5 separate regions of the Homo sapiens genome follow, and regions 2, 3, 4 and 5 are each linked to region 1. Evidence: promoter capture Hi-C in 16 types of primary human blood cells and fetal thymus (Javierre and others, 2016). All regions are on one chromosome and are shown on one strand. The core of a region is centred on a gene start or on the middle of the fragment in contact, and the rest is flanking DNA. Distances in the headings are between cores, read along the strand shown.

What was found. Contacts are between HindIII fragments. The CHiCAGO score rates a contact against its expected background, and 5 or more counts as called.
Region 2: a fragment that was not itself captured here is called in contact with the fragment with the promoter of CHMP2B in region 1 in 9 of 17 cell types (total CD4 T cells, naive CD4 T cells, activated CD4 T cells and 6 more); the score reaches 11.7 in total CD4 T cells.
Region 3: a fragment that was not itself captured here is called in contact with the fragment with the promoter of CHMP2B in region 1 in 6 of 17 cell types (non-activated CD4 T cells, activated CD4 T cells, fetal thymus and 3 more); the score reaches 6.9 in non-activated CD4 T cells.
Region 4: a contact is called between a fragment that was not itself captured here and the fragment with the promoter of CHMP2B in region 1, in 8 of 17 cell types (naive B cells, total B cells, naive CD8 T cells and 5 more). The highest score is 9.6, in naive B cells.
Region 5: a fragment that was not itself captured here is called in contact with the fragment with the promoter of CHMP2B in region 1 in 13 of 17 cell types (M0 macrophages, monocytes, total CD4 T cells and 10 more); the score reaches 9.7 in M0 macrophages.

Annotation. Positions count from the first base shown.
Region 1 is chr3:87,225,973-87,228,704 of GRCh38, reverse strand. It overlaps CHMP2B (charged multivesicular body protein 2B), which reads right to left and starts at 1,396. Exons shown (of 6, transcript NM_014043.4): 1 at 1,149-1,396. The coding sequence starts at 1,182. MIR4795 (microRNA 4795) reads left to right here and starts at 2,428; the gene lies at 2,428-2,516. RefSeq lists enhancers at 1,185-1,304, 1,375-1,444, 1,495-1,544, 1,635-1,694, 1,805-1,944. The HindIII fragment of the contact is 8,756 bases long and covers 1-2,732 here.
Region 2 is chr3:88,177,843-88,180,574 of GRCh38, reverse strand. No RefSeq gene overlaps it. Among named protein-coding and RNA genes, the nearest start is that of C3orf38, 29 kb to the right of the region's middle. The HindIII fragment of the contact is 2,683 bases long and covers 33-2,715 here.
Region 3 is chr3:88,042,598-88,045,329 of GRCh38, reverse strand. No RefSeq gene overlaps it. Among named protein-coding and RNA genes, the nearest start is that of CGGBP1, 15 kb to the left of the region's middle. The HindIII fragment of the contact is 1,672 bases long and covers 554-2,225 here.
Region 4 is chr3:88,016,596-88,019,327 of GRCh38, reverse strand. No RefSeq gene overlaps it. Among named protein-coding and RNA genes, the nearest start is that of CGGBP1, 41 kb to the left of the region's middle. RefSeq lists a silencer at 164-213. The HindIII fragment of the contact is 400 bases long and covers 1,125-1,524 here.
Region 5 is chr3:87,999,058-88,001,789 of GRCh38, reverse strand. No RefSeq gene overlaps it. Among named protein-coding and RNA genes, the nearest start is that of CGGBP1, 59 kb to the left of the region's middle. The HindIII fragment of the contact is 1,905 bases long and covers 374-2,278 here.

The DNA of each region.
Region 1 (2,732 bases), core at 147-2,646:
AAGGAAAAATGTATTATGTCATCTGATAAATTAGAGGTAAAGTAGATTATGTGTTGAAATGAAGTGTACAGCAGCAGAGCAGAGATGACTTCTTTGTTATCCTCCCCAAAATAATTTTGCTGGCATTGGAATAGTCAACACAAAGGAATGAAGGAGTTACGTCCAGGTCTGGACTGAGCACCCTATTTGTACCAATCACTGTCTAGCTACCACTGCTCCTTTTGTGGCAGAATTAGACCCTTACAAAGAAGTGATTCTTTGGTTGAACCAGCAACAACCTAGACTAAACATATAATGGGGAACACAATTTTTAAATAACTTGAATGAATTTAATTCCTGGTAGCAATCAATGAAAACATCAAGTGTTATATAAACACATTATAGGCATCGCATATGAGCACCATAAAACTTGTACATTCCTTTACATTCACTTTTTTCCCCGCTTAAGATGATATTAAGCTAAATGCGGGAAACAACACAATTATCTTTACATGTTAAACTTCTATGAAGACAATATATACCCCATCTCTTTCTTTAGTTGGCAAAAAATAATCATAAGGGAGAAAAATCCATTATGAAAACTAAATCTGGGCACTTCCCTTGGGTTTATTTTTCTACTGGGGTTAATCAAAAAAGCATTTGTTTCACATCTCTTTACTGATGGGGTGTTCTTAAAGAAGCAACTGACCCAGACCCAACTTCATTTCCTAACTGGAGCCTGTTATCCCCTCCCTCCCCATTCCGAGACTGCCAGTTTCCTGTATGGATGCCTACAAGTAGTATATCGCCCAACTGAAGAGCAACAATCGAAGCAGAGGAAACCAACAAGAAATCCATCAGATTTCCAAGTTTATTGACACTCAAGGGCCAGCTAGCCTCCTCGAAACGCTCAGGATCCTGCTGAGGAAAACCCGAGGGTGGGGGAATCGTGAGGATAGGGAAGCAACCAGACTGCCTAGGTGAGCCTAAGGTGAGGTGAGTCAGAAGCAAGAGGGAGGCAGAGAAGTGGTGCCGCGAGGGCGGTCACCTGTGGGACCACTTGATCCAGCCCCGCCTCCAGGGACAGTAGGCAGAATCGCGGCCAGCAGGCCTCGAAAGACGCCGAGAAAACGCAGAGCTGGGCCCCTTCAGCCCGGCCTGGAACTCACCATCCACGGTTTTCTTCTTGAAGAGGGACGCCATGGTTAAAGACTGCGCCCGGGCGGCCCGGCTCGGCCCGGTCCGGCCCAACGCTGGCAAAGGACAGGAGGAAAAGGACAGGACCTTGGCGGGTTCGGGGTGGCGGAGCGGAGAGACAGCAGGAGGAGGTCGGGGTCGCCAGGCAGGACCCGCGGAAGGCTTGTATCCGCAGCTACCGCAGCCGCGTCACCCGGAGCTCAGGTGACCGGGAACTAACACACTTTTTGGAGAAGTCACTTCTAGGCGGCGCCTGCGCGTTGTGTGGCGCCTGCGCACTACGGAGTTTGAAGCCGCGGCCGCTTTCCTCACGTCTGCGGCTGCCAGTTCCTCCTGCACCGGGAGTTGGCAGCGGGGCGAGTCTGGAGCTGGCGGGGATAGGAGAGCGTGGGGCCACGGCTTCTGTGCGCGGGTTGGGTGATGATTGAGGACAGTGATCAGCCTTGCTTAGCGCTTCACCCCTTGCCCCGGGGAAAGCTGGATGAGGGATCTCCGGGCTCCTAGACTAAGTGTGGGTTGTCCCGGAACCGCCTGTACCCACTCCGAGTTGATTTATTACGGTCCCATTGCTGTTAGTATTTTTGTTGTTGTTGTTGTTGTTGTTTGTTTGTTTTTACTCGAGTAATCCAGGAACTGGCGGAAACGTTGAGTTCCGTACCCGGTGATTGTTGGCCCCTGGAGTTCGCGGTCCTTTCGGCACTGACTGACTCGGCGACCTCCCCCGCACCGCGCAGACCCCTGCAGGACCCTAGCCGCTCACCTGCCGCCCCCGGCTCCAGACTCCGACGACCCAGCGTGGGTCTCCGGGGATCCAGTGTCTAGAGTTGGGGGGGTCTCGAGGACGAAGGGAAGTTTTTTAATGCTACACTTTTTGTTTAAGGTTCTTGCCTGGAAACATTAAAACACACACACACACACACACACACACACACACACACAAATTTGTAGGCTGGTCTAAATGTCTCCAGCTCTATTTCTTAATTTCTTGTAAATCATGAATCATAAAGTGTCATGGCTATACGGTGATCCTATTAGAATTCCTCACAGCCGTTTATTTGGGCTTTTTGTGAAAAACTGCATATCATGTTAAAGAAAAAATGTAATGAATTATTTAAAGAATCCTTGCATGTATAAAATGGAAAATACAACCTATGCGTGCGTACCTGTATATAGTCTCTACTGTTTAAAGCAACACTGCCTTCCACAGGATAAAAATAATGGTAGCATTTTTTTTTTCATAAATATTATCTCTGATATGGAAGAAATCCAGAAGTGGCTAATAATATTGACACTATAACAATAATGTCAATATTATTAGCCACTTCTGGATTTATGAATCATGTCTCAAGGATTATTATTTATGATAATCAGGCCAGCCTTTCCCATTTTTCCCCTCCTGAGATATCCAAGCCCTCATAGCCACTGATAATGCTGCTGCTGCTGCTAAAAGTTAGCTGAGAGTCTGTTCAAGAAAACTTTCTTAAGAATGACGTAGTAATATGCAAGATATAATTGTTTTGCTTCTCCTCAAGTTATTCTCGATATGGGAAGATGAA
Region 2 (2,732 bases), core at 125-2,624, 950 kb before region 1:
CCACTTTCTACTTTAAGGTGCTATTATAAGCTTCCTTCCTTCAAAATGATCCGCAGCAGCATTTGGGTTTTGAACAAGAAGAGGACAGATAAAGTACTCTGATTCTTTCTTAATTTTAAAAGAAAAAAAAAATCAATGGGTAAGAAGGGAGGATGAAGAAAAATAAATTAGTTTTGCAGTATTATCACATGTTATCTGGGCCTTAACAAATTAGTTTCTAGTAAAATGTGATCCAATGAACACATTTAAATAAAATTAAAATTAAACAATTTAAAGTAGGTACTCTAAAGTGGAAAAAAATCTTGTGTTAATTTGCTTAGGAATCTATTTTGTTTTAAATAAAAAGTAAATAAAATGAAAAAATATTGTAAAAATGAAGATTTTATTAAAATCCTGAGAAAATTGATAACTTGTCAATAAAAATAAGCCTATCCCTCAGAGCAAATTTGTGTTAGAATAAAAGGCATCTGTTTATCCATATACATAGCTCTATGCAGCCCCTAAAACATTTTATTATTCAAGTTTACTTAGTGTTGAAAATGTTACCTATTGCTTAGTTATTCAAGACTGTTATATATTTATAGTATTTATTGTACTGTATGTATGTTGAGAAGTTAATTATTGATATGCTAAATTTGTTATAGTTGGGAGTTAACTTCATACAGATTAATATGGATTAAAAATCCAAATTTCTCAAAATTCTAGATTTTTAAAACATATAGACATTCAAATTACATGTCAAGTTGTGAGTATTAGCATATTCCTCAGTTTTCAGTGTGAATATTAGCATATTCCTCAGTTTTGAGATTATTGTTTCATAAATGTTTCAAACCACATTATTATGTATGTTAAGGGTATTTTAATTAATCATTCCAACTCTGGCATAAGTAGACAAACTACTTAGTAATGTCAAACCAAAATAATATTCTGGCAGTCTCTGTCAGTAAAATGTCATTTTATCTGAAACATGAACAAACTAATTTCTGTTGTTGTTTTTGATATTTTTCTTTGAACATTATAAAAATTTTCAAACATAAAGCAAAATTGAAAGAATTTTAAATGAGTACCTGTATATCTTCCACAAGGTCCTACTATTAACAGTTTAGTATACTTGCTTTATCATATCCATCCATCAATCCATCCCCCATCCATTAAATCTCTTTTATTTATGTAAGCACTTTAGAGTTCAATATTTGTGTGTGTTTATGTGAAATGTACATATACTACAATGTACAACTCTTAAGTGTATATTCACTGAGTTTTGACAAATACATACATCTGTACACAGTCAAACCCATATCACGATATAGAACGTGACCTTCCTGTAAGAAAGTTCTCATAACCTTCACAGTAAATTCCTACCCCAACAACTCTCCAGAGGCAACCAATGTTATTTTTTTTTCCACTGCAGATTGGTTTTGTTTGTTCTAGGCTTTCTTATAAGTGGAGTCACAAAGTATGTACCCTTTTGTTTAAATCTTCTTTCACTAAGCCTTCATGTTGAATGCAATGTATAATTCATTTATTTGTATTATAGAGGAGTATTTCACTATATATGCCATAGTTTGTTTATCCAATCTCTAACTGAACATGTGAGCTATTTCCTTTTTGAGGCTTTTCTGAACAAAGCTGCTATGAATATTCTTGGATATGTCTTTTTGTGAATATATGCTTTTATTTCCCTTTAGTAGATGCTTATTAGTGAAAATGCTGGGCCATAGTGTAGGGATATCTTTAGTTTTAGCATTTAGCATTTAGTTGTGGCATTATACAATCCTTACAAAAAATGTATGAGAGGTCCAGTTTTTCTATAACATCACTAGCATTTGGTAATGTTTATCTTTCTAAATTATAGTCATTCTGGTGGTAGTGTCTTGTCTCCTGGTTTTAATATGTATTTCCATAGTGACAGTTGACATCGTATACTCTTTAATGATTTTATTGGCAATTTGTACTTCTTTTTTTATAAATTGTCTATTCAAATACTTTGCCCAGTTTTAATTAGGTTATTTGACTTTCTATTGCTGAGTTGTAGGAGTACTCTATGTATTCTGCATACCCGTCCTTTGTCAGGTGTGAATATTTCTTCCAGTCTTAGCTTTATTTGTGAATATTTCTTTGTGAATATTTCTTCCAGTCTTAGCTTATTTCTTAATGTTCATTTTAATTAGCAGAAACTTTTAATTTTGAAGAAATATAATTTATCAATTTTTTCTTAAATGATTTTACTTTCTGTACCTGATGGTACCTTTGCTTATCCCCAAGTCATAAAAATATTCTATTTCCCTTTAAAGGTTTTATGGTTTTAGCTTTTATGTTTAGGTCTATGATCCAAAATTGATTTTTCTGTATAGTATGAGGTGTGAGTCAAGGGGTTTTGTTAAAATATGGATATTTAGTATTCCAAGGGACTTTTCTTTCCTCATTGGCTTTGTTAAAAAGCAAATGTCTATGTAAGTGCAAGTGTATATCTACGTTCTTTATTCTATTCCATTCATCTGTGGATCCTTATTTTTACCACACTGTCTGGATTACTACAGCTTGATAGTAACTTTTGCCTCTAACTTTGTCTTTATTTATATACTTTTTGGATAATAGCTACTGAAGATAGGTGCATATTTTAATATTATGTAAGTCTTATGAAAAATGACAACAAATTGCTTTTGGGGGCTTATGAATTTCAGTCTTAATTTGGGACATAGAGAAAAGGAAGCTTTTTGTTCTTATCAACA
Region 3 (2,732 bases), core at 140-2,639, 820 kb before region 1:
AAGTTCAGATTGGAGAAAGAGAAAAGAGGCCGGAGAAGAGAGACCTTCAGAAAAATAAATGTAATATATATTATGTTATATTGTATTATTGCTTTGATAATATACTCTCCTACACTAACTTTATCCTGCTTTGAATTTCTAAGACACCTTTATTCTTTTCAGAACATTTACTTTTAATAGGATCCCATTTGAGGTCTATGATTACAATATATTCTGTTATCTCTCTGTGACTATTATAATTTTTTTTTTTTGAGACAGAGTTTCACCCTTCCACCCAGGCTGGAGTGCAGTGGCATGATCTCGGCTCACTGCAAACTCCGCCTTGGGTTTTAAGTGATTCTCTTGCCTCAGCCTCCCAAGTAGCTGGGATTACAGGCGCCTACCACCACACCTGGCTAACTTTTGTATTTTTAGTAGAGATGGGGTTTCACCATGTTGGCCAGGCTGGTCTACAACTCCTGACCTCATGATCTGCCCACTTCAGCCTCCCAAAGTGCTGGGATTACAGGCATGAGCCACTGTGCCCAGCCAACTATTATAATTTGTTAAAGCTTTCTTCTATTTCTGCATCATCTCTGTTTCCTCTATTTCTGACTGCTTGTTTAGTCTGTCTCTTTCCTATTAGAAACATATTTTCCACACACCTCCTCATTACAACTTTTTCTGTGTACCAAATACCTTAATAACTGAGAAGAAATTCATAGTAGCCTTAAAAGGAAAGAAAGGAAACTATGAGCAGATAAGATATCTTGAGGAATTTCCGGACAAGGGACAGGTTGATTTATGAATGATGAAAAGTAGATTGTATTAAATTGATTGAGAAGCAAGAGAACAGAGAAAATCCAAAGCTCAAAATGCTTCAAAGAAAAACACTTTCTGAAAAAAACCACTTCTGAATTCAGAGCAGATTCAGAAAAATGGCAAGTGAAAGTGAACAAAAATGAAGAGGGGGAGATGTTGTCTCTAAATAATCATCAGGGTAAATGATTATACAGTTTCTTACTATAATTCTTACATATGCTAAACACAAGGTAGCACTGTTTAATGGTTTAAGAGTAGAATATAAAACCTATAAACAACATTATAATAAAATGAACTGCTTATTATCACTAGTATGGCTTGTGTTATAACATAGAAAGGCCTAGAAAACATTATTCCAAAGAGGAATTTGTGATGTTTAGACTACTGTCAATGAAAGAAAGGAGGAAATTATCTGCCCAGCTCCTAAGTGCAGCAAACTTCTTTACTATCTCTGATGGTTAATTTTATGTGTCAGCTTGCCATGGGTGTCTGGATATTGGTCAAACATTATTTAGGAGTATGTCTATGAGCGTGTTTTGGATGAGATTAACACTTGAATCAGAAGACTGAGTAAAGCAGATTGCCCTCCCTAATGTGGGGTGTGGGGGGCCCATCCAATCAGATGAAGACTTGAATAGAATAAAAAGGCTGACCCTTCCAAAAGTAAGGGACAGTCTTCTACCGCCTGACTGCCTTGTGCTGGGACATTGGTTTCTTTCTGCCTTCAAAATCAAGCTGAAACATTGGCTCTTCCTGGGTCTTGAGCCTATCAGTAATTGGAATGAAGCCACGTGATTGGTTTGCCTGGTTTTCAGGCCTTCAGACTCACTGAAATGATACCACCAACTCTTCTGTGTCTCCAGCTTGCTGACTGCACCTCTCGGGACTTGTCATTCTGTATAATCGTGTGAGGTAATTCTTTATAATAAATCTCTCTCTCACCCAGATAAATAGATCTTTTTCTCTGTGAATATATACATCCTATTGGTTCTATTTGTTTATATAGGATGGTAACTAATACAAATTTTGGCACTAAGAGTGATTCCAGAAGAACAGAATTTTAAGGATGAGTTTTAGGAATTAGTTCTGGGATATCTGGAATTGGATCTCTAAGCTGATTAAATTTATAAACACTAATGATTTTATTTTCAGTAGTAAAAAGAGCACTAATAGTTCATGGCATGATGTAACAATGGAGAAACACAAAATATCACCATTGGATACTCAACTACTTACAAGAAGCAAGAATCTGTTTAACTATGTATAAGATACTTTGAAATATTTTTGGCAAACTAATGAGTATAATGAGATGGGCTGGTTGCTTCTAATGTCACTGAACATAGTGGAGAAAGAAAAGAAAAGAAAACGACGAGCTCAGGCATTTGAGTTTCCAACTCAAGTGCTGCATAAATGACCTAAAAGCTTCTATGTGTGCCCTGAAAAAGACCCTTAGCTCTGGTAGCTGCAGGGCTGAGATTGCTGAGAATCAAATCCAGATTCTCATTCTGTGACTTGCTGAATTACAATGCAAGTTGAACTCCCAGCCTTGTTAAGTATGAACTGTTAAAGTGAGGATATTGATTGGGAAGGAATGGTATCCTGAAAGTTGGCATGGGCCCGTGTGGGAAGGCCCTGATGAACCTCAGTGCCATTGAACCCCTAAATGTCAATGGGGTCCCTCGTGAACCCCAGTAGGAGAAGCCACTCCACCTTGACTGAGAGCTGCCTCTCCATTCCCATCTGAGGAGATTCACTGCATTAGCTGAGGAAATTGCAGTGGCCTCCACTAAAGCAGTTGCAATTGCCATGCAAGACAACCATGAGTCTTCTCAGGATTCACTCCCACCACCTTTCCTTGCTTCTTGACCCTTAAATAGACTTAAGACCCTAGAAGTTCCTAGAGGTGAGGTACAAAGTGTGGTCCATAAGTT
Region 4 (2,732 bases), core at 75-2,574, 790 kb before region 1:
TTTTATTTATATATTTATATGCATGCTGCCTTTTTCACTCTGTGGTTAGCGTTAAATGTCTGGCACCAGTGTACTTATGTAAAATAGACTACTGTGGAAATGCTTTTCAGAGTTCAGCAGATTTTACGTGTCCACAAAAACCACAGAGCTACTAGGTGTCACATAACAGCTATACTGAAGCAAACTTTTGTTCAAAGCCACACTTACTTTTGCTGCAGTGAAGTGCATTCTTACTATATGTACTCCAAAAATTTTCAAGGCTTTTCCTGCAAGAAAAATATTCTATATTATACCATCTTCTTGTTATGTGTGTGTGTGTGTGTCTCAGTCATCTTAAATTCATTTGAAATTCTTTGAGTGCAAGGTCTGATATTTTTGTTTTCAATTTGCATTTTAATACTCCATAATACTTAAAAGTTAAATAATATATGGCTTACAAGCATACCTGTTAAAAGTTAAAAATAGGAGAAAAAAATGAGTACTTTTCAAACAATTTAAAAAGTATTAGTTATTATTAATGATTAAATCTCTTGGTGCTATATAATAACTTCAGCCTAAATTTAACTCTTTCTTCATATTCCATTTTTTTTTTTGAGACAGAGTATCACCCTGTCGCCCAGCCTGGAGTGGAGTGCAGTGGTGCCATCTCGGCTCACTGCAACATCTGCCTCCCAGGTTCAAGCGATTCTCATGCCTCAGCCTCCTGAGTAGCTAGGACTAAAGGTGTGCGCCACCTCACCTGACTAATTTTTGTATTTTTAATAGAGACAAGGTTTCACTATGTTGGCCAGGCTGGTCTCAAACTCCTGACCGCAGGTGATCCACCTACTTTGGCCTCCCAAAATGCTGCGTTTACAGGTGTGAGCCACCACACCTGGTATTCTTCGTAATCCTTTCTCTTTCTCTTTCTTTGCTTCCCTCCTTCCTTCCTTTTCTTTCTTTCTTTCCTTCCTTCCTTCCTTAACTTTTGGTATTGGCTGCACTTTCAAACAATAAATACAGATGTTAATGAAAAGGTCCTTTCAATCTAAGAATTATGAATATGCTGGGTGAGTCTAGATCTTCTAGTCTTTCCACAGTGATCATTTGTAGTCATGGTGGAATTTTCCTGACCTTGGTAAGCTTACTCAAATATGAGGATGAAATCTCTAACTTTGGCTAGTTACCACTCTGCTTTTTCTATCCATATGCTATGTCATTAACTCTCTTCAGTCTCTTTTTCCCCCAAATGCATGGTGAAAATTCAAAGGTGATATCAACCATACAGGCACATTCTGGGGAAAGTGGTAGCAAGGATGTCAGTCCATGACCTCAGTCTTTTTCAGGCTCATTACAAAGACATTGGGAGGAGGTGTTAAGGTGTTAGTGGGCCTTTTTATAAAGACTTGTGTGGAAATACTAGTAGCTTGGGTTTCAGTTTGCAGTAGTTCCCGTAATATTGTTTCAATATAATACTCTATTAAATAAAAACATTTCTCAGATATCTATAAATCTGTTCATCCTTCTATAATCATTTATCAAGCTTTACAATATTTGTCCCAGAACTTTGCTAGGCTACAAGCTAAGGAAACAGGAAAAAATATGTATGGCTTTCGATGTCAAGGAGCTAAGAGGTTTGGAGAAGATGAAAATGAAAACAAGAACCATAGAGAAAATAGGTGTTCAAAATAATACAGGATAATACAGCAAGAGAAGAAGTTGAATGCTCATCTGGAGTGGAGAAAAACTAAGAGAAGTTTTAGGAAAGAGGTATTACCTGAGCTGAGTTTAAAAGAATGAATAAGGCCGGGCACGGTGGCTCACGCTGGTAATCCCAGCACTTTGGGAGGCCGAGGTGGGCGGATCACGAGGTCAGGAGATCCAGACCATCCTGGCTAACACGGTAAAACCTCGTCTCTACTAAAAATACAAAAAATTAGCAGGGCGCAGTAGCGGGCGCCGTAGCCGGCACCTGTAGTCCCACATACTTGGGAGGCTGAGGCAGGAGAATGGCGTGAACCCGGCAGGCGGAGCTTGCAGTGAGCCGGGAGGGCGCCACTGCACTCCAACCTGGGCGAAAGAGCCAGACTCCATCTCAAAAAAAAAAAAAAAAAAAAGAATAAAATTGATCACGGGCTTTAATTTACAAGCAAGTTAAATGTAAGAGCTTGGGGCAGAGTATAAAATACAGTTGGAGACGAGGGTGGGGACCAGTCTTCTCCATCCTGCTAAGGAGCATGGACTTGATCCCACATAGGTAGTGGCAAACCACTGAAGGATGTAAACAAGAGAAAAACCTGGACCACCCTTGAGATGTAAAAAGATGACTTCAAAAATTTTTATAGAGGACAGATTGCACTTGGATGGAGTTGGATGTAGAGATACCAAAGGAGAGACAATGAAATCTTAAACTTGAGACACAGTAATGAGAAAAGAAGAAGGGGATGAAGAGGAGACCTATTGTGTCCGAAATTGATGGGTTCTTGGTCTCACTGACTTCAAGAATGAAGCCACGGACCCTCGAGGTGAGTGTTACAGTTCTTAAAGACAGCGTGACTGGAGTTTGTCCTTTCTGATGTTCAGATGTGTTCGGAGTTTCTTCCTTCTGGTGGGGTTCCTGGTCTCACTGGCTCAGGAGTGAAGCTGTGGACCTTTGCCGTGGGTGTCACAGCTCTTAAGGCAGAGCGTCTGGAGTTGTTCTTTTCTCCCGGTGGGTTCGTGGTCTCGCTGGCTTCAGGAGTGAAGCTGCAGAC
Region 5 (2,732 bases), core at 77-2,576, 770 kb before region 1:
CTGTATTTGAAGACATTAACTGAGAACTTTTTAGAACTTGTGGAATAAAACAAGCATTAGATCCGGGAACTCCAGTGAACGAGGATAACTTGAAGTGAAAGTTTGAGGTTCGCCAAATTACAAATCATTACACAAGAAAAAGAAAAAAAATAGAAAAAAAGAGGAAAATATTCTTAAAAGTTTGGTGGAATTTTTTCTGAGTAAGAAATTTATCCAAATCCTGTTTCCTGCCATGTCCCTAAGAAATCATTTGTCTTATTCTTTTCCCCGAATACTTGGACAAAAGTTAGAAAAACCTGTACTGTAAATCCTATTCCTGAATAAAAGAAAAAGAGAGGTTTTTTGGCGGGGGGTATAGGTCAACTAGAAAGCTTCTATCTTAGTTGACACCTGTTGGATGTTTCTGGAGCTGTGTCAAGACGTGATATGGACACCTCTATCTTTAAACAGGTAAACGTGGTATTACATTTGTGCTAGTATCACAAAATTAAATTCAGCTGAGCTAAGCTGACAACGTACAAGATACAATTTGCTCTGAAGATTCAACAAAGAGAACCACTGTACGGCATAATGGTTACCAGCAAGCTGAGTAATAGGCAATAAACAGTCCAGTTATTCTACAGTCAGTTTACTTCTGCATGAACCCAGTCGCTGATGTGAAGGGTAGGGGTCAGCGTAGTTAGGGAATCCGTGAGGCTCCTGTTACTGCGCATGCTCTAAGCTCCAAGCCCACAACCTCCTTCGAAAGAACACTACCGCCAACGCTAGCGCTACGGGGCAGATGTGGTTGTGGGTTTTGTGCCTGCAGAGGTAAATAGTCCATTTAACATCTCAGCAATCAAGTCGCAAGAACCTTCCAAAGCGCCACCCTCTAAATCGCAGCTGTATATACTAGAGTGATACTGTAATCAAAAAGGAGGAGGAGGAGAGAGGAGAAAAGGGGGATACAAAGAAACATAAAAGCAAAAAGAACTCACTTTTCTCGAGGAAGTACAATTACCTGTTCACAAATATTTGGGAATAGGTGCAAAGATTTGCTTTAAAATAGTTTTTTTAAACATAGTTCCCTTAATAATTAATGAAGGTATAACTTTCTCTATTGAATACCTGCAAACATACCTATTCAAAGAGCATTCATTATAACCTTTTCTTCTCATTCTCTTAAATGCCAACAATTTTTTTCGTTTTGTCTCTGTCAAGATTTATTTTGGGAAGGAAAAGTTGAAGGAAACTATTTCTCAAAATTTAATACATAATTCTAGGTGATTACATTCAAAACTGTTCTTGCAAGATTGGAACTCAGAATATTATTTAATAACAATATTTCAGTAACCATGTCTACTTATTTTTTAAAAATTAAAAAAGGAATTGTCTAGAATATTATTAATAATGATATTTCAGTAACTACATTTACTGAATTTTAATTTCAGAAAAATAAAAGGAATTGTCTTTGTTCTATGTTGAGTTTTAAAAATGAGAATGCTAACTCTTTTGATTTTAGTGAAGTGAGGTGAAGGACCAGAGGTGAAGTTATGGTAGGTTTCATGGTCAAATGAAGGAGACTCCTTTTAAAGTTCAGGCTGCCACAAACACTTTGGACAAACACGTGGACACTTAAAATTCATGTCTACTGCACACCATTATTCTTCCTTTGTAGTTTTCTTAATAGGATGCTATAGGATGTTTTGAAATCATTAAGTTAAAGCCAACACTCGTTATTTGAAGAACATGGTTTATTTCATATTATACTATATTTTTGGGCTAAGCAACATTAAATTCCACCATACATTTATTTTTTTCCACCCTCAACAACAGCAACAAACTGAGTAGATTATACTTCATAGACTACTAAAATTCATGTTTGAACATTTTCTATAGTTTGGGCAATTGGTATTAAAATTGTTAAAATAAACTTGACTGTTTTTTCTTGTCTTTTTTTAAATAAAAAAACTACTACATATTATTTTTCATTAATGGGAAGATTTTGAGAAAGAAAATGCATTTAAATTTTGGCTCAGGTTTAATAGCATACATACACAAGTCTCGTTCAGACAATACTCAATAGAAAATACAAATATAAGAAATCTATTCTTCAACCTGAGCCTCTAAATATTTTGCATATGATATACTAATAAGAGCAGGGAAAAGGATAGTCGATTCCTAATATATGCATGCATTTATAATTGAAGTTATTTTTGTGTAAGTATGGCAAGCAGAATAGATAGTATTTAAACCTTTAGATTGATAGGATGATAAAATAGGAAAAAACCCCAAAGCTTAACACAAAGAGTCATTGTTGAGTTCAGTTTCATATTCTGAAACACTGAAGTGAATAGAAACATAATAAATAAATCTATGAACTTGCAATTTACCTTTTAGTCCCTTTTTTTGTAGTATATGTAATGACAGCACAAGTTTGTGGACAGAGGGACAACCATGACAAACAGGCTTCTTGGAGAACAAGGGGAGTCCAGTTCAGTTGCTAGAGTCAACATATAGTGTGTTTCCTGTGATTGGTGTGGTTCTCAGGTGCTTGCTGTAAATTTGGGCAGTGTTAAAGGGTTGGCATTTCTATGTTTGGTCAACCTGATAGTGCTTGTACCATAATCATCCATAATCATATAAGATGGTGAAATGGGCATGGGCCTTAAGTCTTTAAGAAATTTAAGATCTATTTTTTTTAAAATGTAAAAGATCTAATCTTTTATATCTTTAAGATTTGATCTTTTAAG